Linked DNA regions of Homo sapiens: region 1 is linked to region 2. Evidence: promoter capture Hi-C in human tissues and cell types (Jung and others, 2019). All regions are on one chromosome and are shown on one strand. Each heading gives the region's core, a stretch centred on a gene start or on the middle of the fragment in contact. The rest is flanking DNA. Distances are from core to core; before and after follow the strand shown.

Evidence for each region. The method cuts DNA at HindIII sites, captures the fragments that hold promoters and counts their contacts. A contact is called where the count stands out against the background at its distance.
Region 1: the fragment with the promoter of MSL1 here is called in contact with the fragment with the promoter of IGFBP4 in region 2 in 1 of the 25 tissues and cell types used here (ovary).

What each region holds. Positions count from the first base shown.
Region 1 is chr17:40,119,080-40,123,859 of GRCh38, forward strand. It overlaps MSL1 (MSL complex subunit 1), which reads left to right and starts at 2,892. Exons shown (of 9, transcript NM_001365919.1): 1 at 2,892-4,301. The coding sequence starts at 3,534. LOC124904001 (a long non-coding RNA gene) reads right to left here and starts at 2,761. Exons shown (of 2, transcript XR_007065752.1): 1 at 2,705-2,761; 2 at 1,450-2,334. RefSeq lists silencers at 2,343-2,502, 2,733-2,932, 2,973-3,182, 3,243-3,382, 3,483-3,532 and 1 more and an enhancer at 3,733-4,371. The HindIII fragment of the contact is 12,972 bases long and covers 1-4,780 here.
Region 2 is chr17:40,440,318-40,444,733 of GRCh38, forward strand. IGFBP4 (insulin like growth factor binding protein 4) reads left to right here and starts at 3,133. Exons shown (of 4, transcript NM_001552.3): 1 at 3,133-3,767. The coding sequence starts at 3,419. RefSeq lists an enhancer at 934-983 and silencers at 3,030-3,219, 3,230-3,279, 3,290-3,339. The HindIII fragment of the contact is 6,489 bases long and covers 1-4,416 here.

The sequences.
Region 1 (4,780 bases), core at 1,642-4,141, 320 kb before region 2:
ATGCTTGGCTAATTTTTTGTATTTTTAGTAGAGACGGGGTTTCGCCATGTTAGCCAGGATGGTCTCGATCTCCTGACCTTGTGATCCGCCCACCTCGGCCTCCCAGAGTGCTGGGGTAACAGGCACGAGCCACGACGTCCAGCCTTGGACATACATTTTGAAAGGCAATGGGGTGACAAAGAGAGGAAGACTGGGCTGGGCGCGGTGGCTTACGCCTGTAATCCCAGCTTTGGGTGGCTGAGGTGAGCGGATCATGAGGTCAGGAGTTTGAGACCAGCCTGACCAACATGGTGAAACCCCGTCTCTACTAAAAATACAAAAATTAGCTGGGCATGGTGGTGCATGCCTGTAATCCCAGCTACTCTGGAGGCTGAGGCAGGAGAATCGCTTGAACCCGGGAGGTGGAGAGGTTGCAGTGGGCTGAGATTGTGCCACTGCACTCCAGCCTGGGCAACAGAGCAAGACTCCGTCTCAAAAAAAAAAAAAAAAAAGAGTAAGACTGTAGAAGTGGTATTTGGGTGTTTGGGTGGGAGGAATTCGGGAGCTTGATTTTTAGATGTAAGTTTGAAATACCTAGGCCGGGCGCGGTGGTTCACACCTGTAATCCCAGCACTCTGGGAGGCCGAGGCGGGCAGATCACGAGGTCAGGAGATGAGACCATCCTGACTAACACAGTGAAACCACGTCTCTACTAAAAAATACAAAAAATTAGCCAGGCGTAGTGGCAGGCGCCTGTAGTCCCAGCTACTGGGGAGGCTGAGGCAGAATGGCGTGAACCCGGGAGGAGCTCGCAGTGAGCCGAGATCGTGCCACTGCACTCCAGCACTCCAGCCTGGGCAACAGAGCAAGACTCCACCTCAAAAAAAAGAAATACCTATTAGACATCCAACTGGGTATGTATACTAGACAGTTGGATATATGATTCTGGAGTTAGGGGATGAGTCCAGAAAGAAATATAAATTACGGAGCTGTCAGCGTAGAGATGGTGCAGAAAGTCTTGACGCTGAAGGCTGGGCACAGTGGCTCACTCCTATAATCCCAGCACTTTGGGACGCCCAGGTGGGAGGATCGCTTGAGCGAGTTCAATACCAGCCTGGGCAACAAAGGCTGGTATTACAAAGGCCCGTCTCTACAAAAAAATAAAAAGTTAGCCAGGTGTGGCAGCCCAAGCCTGTTGTCCCAGCTACTTAGGAGACTGAGGTGGGAGGATCACTTGAGCCCTGGAGGTTGAGGCTGCAGTGAACCATAATTGTGCCACTGTACTCTAGCCTTGGGGACACAGCAAGACCCCAGTGCCACAAACACACAAGCCTTGACATGGAAAGAGATCACCACATTCTATGTGCCCTCTCATCCCTGCTCACTCCATTACTTGGTGTCCCTAAGCTCAATACTTCCCTTGCTGATCTGAGGCCATACAGTCTGGTGAAAGAGGGCCGGACTCTTGGCTTCTTAACACATTCACATACGTTTGTTTAAAATTTCCAGTGTTTCATGCTTTCAGCCCACAAAGCACAGACACAGTTTTAATGAGAGGTTTTCACATCAGGCCAGAGAATGTCAGTCTTCTCCATCTCCATAGAGATTTTAAAAAGCACACCTCAGACAAAAAAGAAAAACAAGCAATTAAGACTATTTCAGGGCTGGGCACGGTGGCTCACACCTGTAATCCCACCACTTTGGGAGGCCGAGGCGGGCGGATCACCTGAAGTCGGGAGTTCCAGACCAGCCTGACCAAGGAGAAATCCTGTCTCTACTAAAAATACAAAATTAGCTGGGCGTGGTGGCGCGTGACTGTAATCCCAGCTACTCGGGAGGCTGAGGCAGGAGAATCGCTTGAACCCCGGAGGCGGAGGTTGCAGTGAGCTGAATTTCACCATTGCACTCCAGCCTGGGCGACAGAGTGAGAATCCGTCTCAAAAAAAAAAAACGTTTTTTTCACAAGGAATTCTGAGGACTTGTTGGCTCAATTGCTTGGACATAAAGACACACATACATGAAGCTGGAGAGATAGGAAGAAGCGCTCAACACAGAACACCCTAAGTATCCCTACTCCCTTTCAAGGACTAAATCCCTTCAGAGATTTCCTTTGCTTCAGTCCTTCAGGAGCCTCCCGAAGATGCTAGGAGTCGTTTAAGAAGGCTGGAAGATGGCCGTTGGGAAGGAACTGTTGGTAGCTGGCAATACTTCATCCCAAGGAGGCGGTGGCAATAGCTCCCTGGGCAGCAGACATCATGGATTTTCCTCCCTCTGGGAACCAGAGGTCCCTCCGTTTCTGGTTTGAATCCCTTAGAGACAAAGAACTTCATTCTCTCCCATACCCGCGTGGGACTGCTGGGGAGGAGAGGGGGTGGAGGGGTTAGACTTCTACCCCCATGAAACACCCGCGGGCTCAAAGAGGAGCCTGGATCCTGACTGGTCCAGGAGGCGTGCGGGGCCGCGGGGCCCCTCCGGCTTGGGCCAGGCGCGTTGCCAAGATGCCCGGGGAAGGGGCCGCCCGGCGCAGGCCGGGGACGTGGAGCGCTCGGGGCGCTCCCACGTAGGCCACACATTGGCCGCCTGTATCCTCCTTCTTTCCTCTCAACTCCATTCTCTCGCGCTTTTTTCCCGGGGAGCCTCCGCTTTCCCCTTCTTCCCGCGGCCGCCCTCGCCCTTCTTCCCCCTCCAGACCCTCCCCCGGCTCGCCCCTCCCTCGGCAGCCCACCTTCACCCCGCTCCTCCGCGCGCTCCTCGGTCCTCGCCCCTCAGCCCCGGCCTCCCCTCGCCGGCCCCCGGCCCCCGCGGTCCCCTCCCTGCCCCCCTCGAGGCGGCGGCGGCCCCTTTCACAATAGCGCGGCCCGCCTCCCTCCTCTCGGCTCCCGGTGCACTCCCGCCCGCTCCCCTCCCCGCGCATGCGTCCTCCGGTTGGCGGCGGCTGCGGCGGTGGCGGCTACGAGCGGCTCCGTTTTTTTAAAGGGAAACGCTGAGGCGCCGGGGGTGACTGTGGGGGAGGGGGACCCCGAGCCGCGGAGACCCCCGGGAGAGGCGACAGACCCCCTCTCCCGGAGTAGGAGGGCTTTGGGCGGACCCAGCCCTCCACCCCCTCCTGAGGAGGAGGGGGGGGAAATGGAGGCTCGGGGCGGTTGAGGCGAGCTCCGGGGCGGGGGGCCGGGGCGGGGAAGGGGGGGTGCGGGGTGGGGAGACGAGGCGGGCCCGGCCGGGCCAGGGGGGGCCGAAGCGAGCTCCGGGGATGAGCTCGGGGGCGGCTGGGTGCGAGCTCCTGCCTCTGAGGCGAAGGCGGCGGCGGCGGCAGCAGAGGCGGCGGCGAGGCCCCCATGGGCCGGCGGCGGGCCTCAGCCGCGGCCTCCACGTCTCCGCACGCCGGCGGGATGGCGCCCGGGCCCCGGAGGAGCCGCGCTAGCGGAGGCCTGCTGCCGCGCTGCTGAGGCGAGCCCGCCAAACTCCCCTCCCCCCCCTCAGTCCTCGACCCCCCGCACCTCGCCCCTTCCCCACCCCCTCCTCCGCCTCGGTGCCCGGCGCTGCTCCGGACCACTATGACCATGAGATCCGCGGTGTTCAAGGCGGCCGCGGCCCCTGCCGGCGGCAATCCTGAGCAGCGACTGGACTACGAGCGGGCTGCGGCGCTGGGCGGGCCCGAGGACGAGCCTGGGGCGGCCGAAGCCCACTTCCTCCCCCGGCACCGTAAGCTCAAGGAGCCGGGGCCCCCGCTGGCCTCCTCCCAGGGCGGGAGCCCCGCGCCTTCCCCGGCCGGCTGCGGCGGCAAGGGCCGGGGCTTGTTACTCCCGGCCGGGGCGGCCCCCGGGCAGCAGGAAGAGAGCTGGGGCGGTTCGGTGCCCTTGCCCTGTCCGCCCCCGGCCACCAAGCAAGCCGGCATTGGGGGGGAGCCTGCCGCAGCCGGAGCCGGCTGCAGCCCCCGGCCCAAGTATCAGGCGGTGCTGCCCATTCAGACGGGCTCTCTCGTGGCGGCGGCCAAAGAGCCTACGCCCTGGGCTGGGGACAAGGGTGGGGCGGCCTCCCCCGCTGCCACCGCCTCGGACCCGGCGGGACCCCCACCACTACCTCTGCCCGGGCCGCCACCCCTCGCGCCCACCGCCACCGCCGGGACCCTGGCGGCCAGCGAGGGCAGATGGAAGAGTATGAGGAAGAGCCCTCTCGGGGGTGGTGGCGGCTCGGGAGCCTCCAGTCAGGCCGCCTGCCTCAAACAGATCCTTCTGCTGCAATTGGACCTCATCGAACAGCAGCAGCAGCAGCTGCAGGCCAAGGAAAAGGAGATCGAGGAGCTGAAGTCAGAGAGAGACACGGTACGGGAGGGGTTAATCTGCATTCGGGCCGAGGAGCGAGTTGTGCGCATGCTCGGGGGAAGGGGGCTGTAGGAGGTTAAGGCACCCCCGGGTTAGGGGTAAAGGAGGTTGGCCACCGGCAAAGGAGTATCTTAGGCGCTGGGTCTCTGGGAGCCAGGCTCACAGACACGTTGGGTTGGAGGGAAGGGTTAAAGGGCAACCTCTCAGGGGGAGGGGGAGGGGTTTCAGGTGCCAAAGGGTTAATTTAAAATGACAGCCCCAGACGTGTGGGAAAGACGTTTAGTGGAAAAAGACGTGATCTGTGAGGGGTTAAAAATGAAAGGGTGGGGTGTAGGTGTTGTGTCCTTATGGAAGGGTTAAATTAAAGAGCTATTGCGTTAGAAATGCACGGTGGAGGAGAGGGCTGTAGCAAGCAGCTGTTGCTTTCACCACTGCTGCAGCATCTTTAGATAGGAGGGCAGTAGGCCTTTTAGTGGGCA
Region 2 (4,416 bases), core at 1,883-4,382:
CTGTCTCATCTGGCAACCTTTGCAGATTCCCACACTCACCTGCACTCATGCTTCATCCCAGGCATGTTGCGTGGGTTTGTCCGGCCTCTCCTGCACTCCTGCCTCTGTGTCCTGGCACCTTTTCTCCTCTTGGGCTTGCTGAACAGGGCACATGTCTGGCATTGGGAGCAGAACTACTCTTCTCCATTCATTTTACTCTCACAAGAGCTTCAAGAGGTAGGATGGGTGGAGATGATCTACCTCCATGTTACAGCTAAGGTCAGTCAAACTCCAAGTTCACGCAAGTTGGTGGCAGAACAGGGTCCAGTGATGATCAAGGAAGGAGATGGGGTGGGGAACGTTTTCTTTTCTTTTTTTCTTTTTTTGAGACTGAATCCTGCTCTGTTGCCTAGGCTGGAGTGCAGTGGTGTGATCTCGGCTCACTACAACCTCCATCTCCTGGGTTCAAGCGATTCTCCTGCCTCAGCCTCCTGAGTAGCTGGGACTACAGGCACGTGCCACCACGCCTGACTAATTTTTTTTATTTTTAGTAGAGACGAGGTTTCCCCGTGTTAGCCACGATGGTCTCGATCTCCTGACCTCATGATCCACCCGCCTTGGCCTCCCTAAGTGCTGGAATTACAGCCGTGAGCCACCATGCCCGGCCTGGGGGCAGTTTTCTGAATCAGGCACAGGCTGGGCTTCCCCAGGGACTTGAGGAAGCTGGTTCTGTTTGCCCTTCTCCAAGGCATATGGGGCAGAAGGGTCCCCACTTCATCTATGAGATGGAATGGAGAGAACCCCAGAATCTTGGCCCCAGCCATCACTTTCCAGCCCTTCTGCAGTCTTGATGGTTGCCAGTAGGTGCCGTCAGTTTGCAACTTTTTGGTCTGTCCTGCAGGTCCGGCTGCCAGTCCCAATCTCCCTGCAATCATCTCTCAGTAAGTAGGAGGTAGCCCAATCCCCGTGAGGCTGAAAGACCCCTGTCCTGGGGGAAGAAGCAGGAAGAGGGTCTCTGAACTGCATTTCAGCTTGGCTGACCTGCAGCTTTCTAGGCCGAGACAAAAAAAAAAAAAAATCCACAGTGGGTTACTGATTATTCCTGGACAGGTACGCTTAACCTGAAACCAGCTCCAGTACAGCAGAAGCCTTTGTAGGGAAGAATGGGTGGGAATTAGCGGGGGCCTGAGAGGGAACCTAGGAGATGGATCTTTGCTCCAAATGCCACTCCAGGGCTCTTCTCAATTTGGGCAGGATTGGGCAAGGCTGGGGGAATAGGGATCAATAGGATTTTACAGAGGGTCAAGCCAGGCCCAACACTAGCCCAAGTAGCAACACTGGGTGAATTAAAAAAGCATCCCTTCCTTAAAATTCTTTTTTTTTTTTTTTTTTGAGACAGAGTCTTGCTCTGTCACCTGGACTGGAGTGCAGTGGTATGATCTTGGATCACTGTAACCTCCTCCTCCTGGGGTTCAAGCGATTCTTCTGCCTCAGCCTCCCAAGTAGCTGGGATTACAGGCATGCGCCACCACGCCCGGCTAATTTTTGTATTTTTAGTAGAGATGGGGTTTCACCGTGTTGGCCAGACTGGTCTCAAACTCCTGACCTCAGGTGATCTGCCCACCTTGGCCTCCCAAAGTGCTAGGATTACAGGCATGAGCCACTACGCCTGGCCTTCTTTTTTCTCTTTCTTTCTTTTTTTTTTTGAGATGGAGTCTCGCTCTGTCGCCCAGGTTGGAGTGCAGTGGCGCAATCTCAGCTCACTGCAAGCTCCACCTCCCGGGATCATGCCATTCTCCTGCCTCAGCCTCCCTAGTAGCTGGGACTACAGGCACCCGCCACCACGCCCGGCTAACTTTTTGTATTTTTAGTAGAGAGGGGGTTTCACCGTGCTAGCCAGGATGGTCTCGATTTCCTGACCTCGTGATCTGCCCGCCTCGGCCTCCCAAAGTGCTGGGATTACAGGCGTGAGCCACCGCGCCCGGCCTTCTTTCTTTCTTTCTTTTTTAGACAGAGTTTCCTTCTTTCACCTAGGCTGGTGTGCAGTGGTACAATTCTAGCTCACTGCAGCCTCCAACTCCTGGGCTCAAGTGATCCTCTTGCCTCAGGCTCCCGAGTACCTGGGACCACAGGTGAACGCCACCACACCTGGCTAATTTTAAAATTTTTTTGTAGAGACAAGGTCTCACTACGTTGCCCAGACTGGTCTTGAACTCCTGGGCTCAAGTGATCCTCCCGCCTCAGCCTCCAAAAGTGCTGACATTACAGGTGTGAGTCACTGCTGCAGGCCCCTCAAATCCTTCACTGCCATCTGGGAAATGATCACAACAGCTCTACAAATACACAATGATTACAAGGAATGGTGCCCCACTGGAGTTGTTCAACGCAAAACTTGCACATTGCAAGTGGCAATCTCCCAGGCCTGCCTCCCTCCACGAGTGGGTCTGAATGGGCCTGAGAGGCAAACATCCAAGAAGGAGGAAGAGGCTCGGCGGCACCTCCCTCCCCGGGAGTTCTGCTGATTCCATCTTGGGGAAGCAGGGTGGACCAGGGCCCAAATGCGCCCTGGGGAGATTGCGGGGGCGGGAGAGGTTGCAAGGGGCAAGTGGCAAGAGCCTGTTAACGTCTTAGGGCCTCCAGGCCTTTCTGTGCCCCTAGCTGTGCCTGTACGCTTTACCCCACCTCAGGAGGCTTGGTCTCCAGCGGTTGAGGCTGGAAGCACCGGGGTGCGGTGGAAAGGGCTCTGTCCAGGAAGACCGGATCCGCAGAGCCGGGAGTCCGGGCTAGGAAGTCCCTTTCTCGGTGGGAGACTGAGGCCGCCTTGGCGGGGCGGGACGAGACTCCTCCGAGGTCGGGAAAGGGGGCCCCGCAGCAGCCCCTTGGCTTCCCTTCTCCCTTGCCTCCCCTCCGGGGCTCCGGTTCAGAGGCACTCTGGGCGCCTGCTACAGCTTCCAAACTGCGCCGCTTCCTTCTTCGGCAGAAAAGGACTTTCAGATGCGGCGGCGGCGGCGGCGGCGACTCAGGACAGCGCCCCCTCCCCCTAACGGCCGCCTCTCCCTCTCCCCCTCGCCCGCCCCGGCTCCCCCACCTCTGGGAAGGCGCTGGGGGTGTGGCCAGGGACCGGTATAAAGTCCGGGGGAGCCGGTCCCGGGCAGCCGCTCAGCCCCCTGCCCCTCGCCGCCCGCCGCCTGCCTGGGCCGGGCCGAGGATGCGGCGCAGCGCCTCGGCGGCCAGGCTTGCTCCCCTCCGGCACGCCTGCTAACTTCCCCCGCTACGTCCCCGTTCGCCCGCCGGGCCGCCCCGTCTCCCCGCGCCCTCCGGGTCGGGTCCTCCAGGAGCGCCAGGCGCTGCCGCCGTGTGCCCTCCGCCGCTCGCCCGCGCGCCCGCGCTCCCCGCCTGCGCCCAGCGCCCCGCGCCCGCGCCCAGTCCTCGGGCGGTCATGCTGCCCCTCTGCCTCGTGGCCGCCCTGCTGCTGGCCGCCGGGCCCGGGCCGAGCCTGGGCGACGAAGCCATCCACTGCCCGCCCTGCTCCGAGGAGAAGCTGGCGCGCTGCCGCCCCCCCGTGGGCTGCGAGGAGCTGGTGCGAGAGCCGGGCTGCGGCTGTTGCGCCACTTGCGCCCTGGGCTTGGGGATGCCCTGCGGGGTGTACACCCCCCGTTGCGGCTCGGGCCTGCGCTGCTACCCGCCCCGAGGGGTGGAGAAGCCCCTGCACACACTGATGCACGGGCAAGGCGTGTGCATGGAGCTGGCGGAGATCGAGGCCATCCAGGAAAGCCTGCAGCCCTCTGGTAAGGTACCCCTGGCCTCCCAATTCCCTCCTGAGTGCGCTCCCTTCCCAGCGGCTTCTTCCCCATTCCAGCCGCCCTGGAAGGCCCTTAAAAATCCCCTATGAGTTGAAGAGAAGGCAGGTACGTGGCAGGGCCCGACTGGCATGGGACAGGCTCATCAAGGAAACTGCTACCGAGTCCCTAGCAGCCTGTTGCCACCACCAAGGGAGACTGTCCCATCGCTCCATCTCAAACCTCCAAGGGTTGTCTGTTTGATAAGGGGGTCCCAGTGGGAGGCCTGGCTGCTGGTGCAGGAGTGGCAGATTAAGGTCCAGTTAAGTCAGCTGTCTAGGGCCAGAGAACTGGAGGATGGTGGTGGGGTGTGTGTTGGGGAGGATGAGGGAGTGGGGAAAGCTTTCTGTTCCTGATCCAGGCCGAGGGTGAAATCCCAGTGGTCTGGGGAGCCAGGGCCTGAACTTTTTTTTTACATGGTCCAGTGGTGGAGTGGGACATACAAATTAGAGGGACTTTGGCGTTGAGGGGCATTAGACTTGCCCTTCCCCAAAGCCCAGAGCCAGGTCACCTTGTTGTTTGAGAGGCAGTGGGAAGACAGGGGTCCCTCTGCCAGGCCTGGACACCTCTGCCTGCCCTGGTATACAGGCCCCCTGTT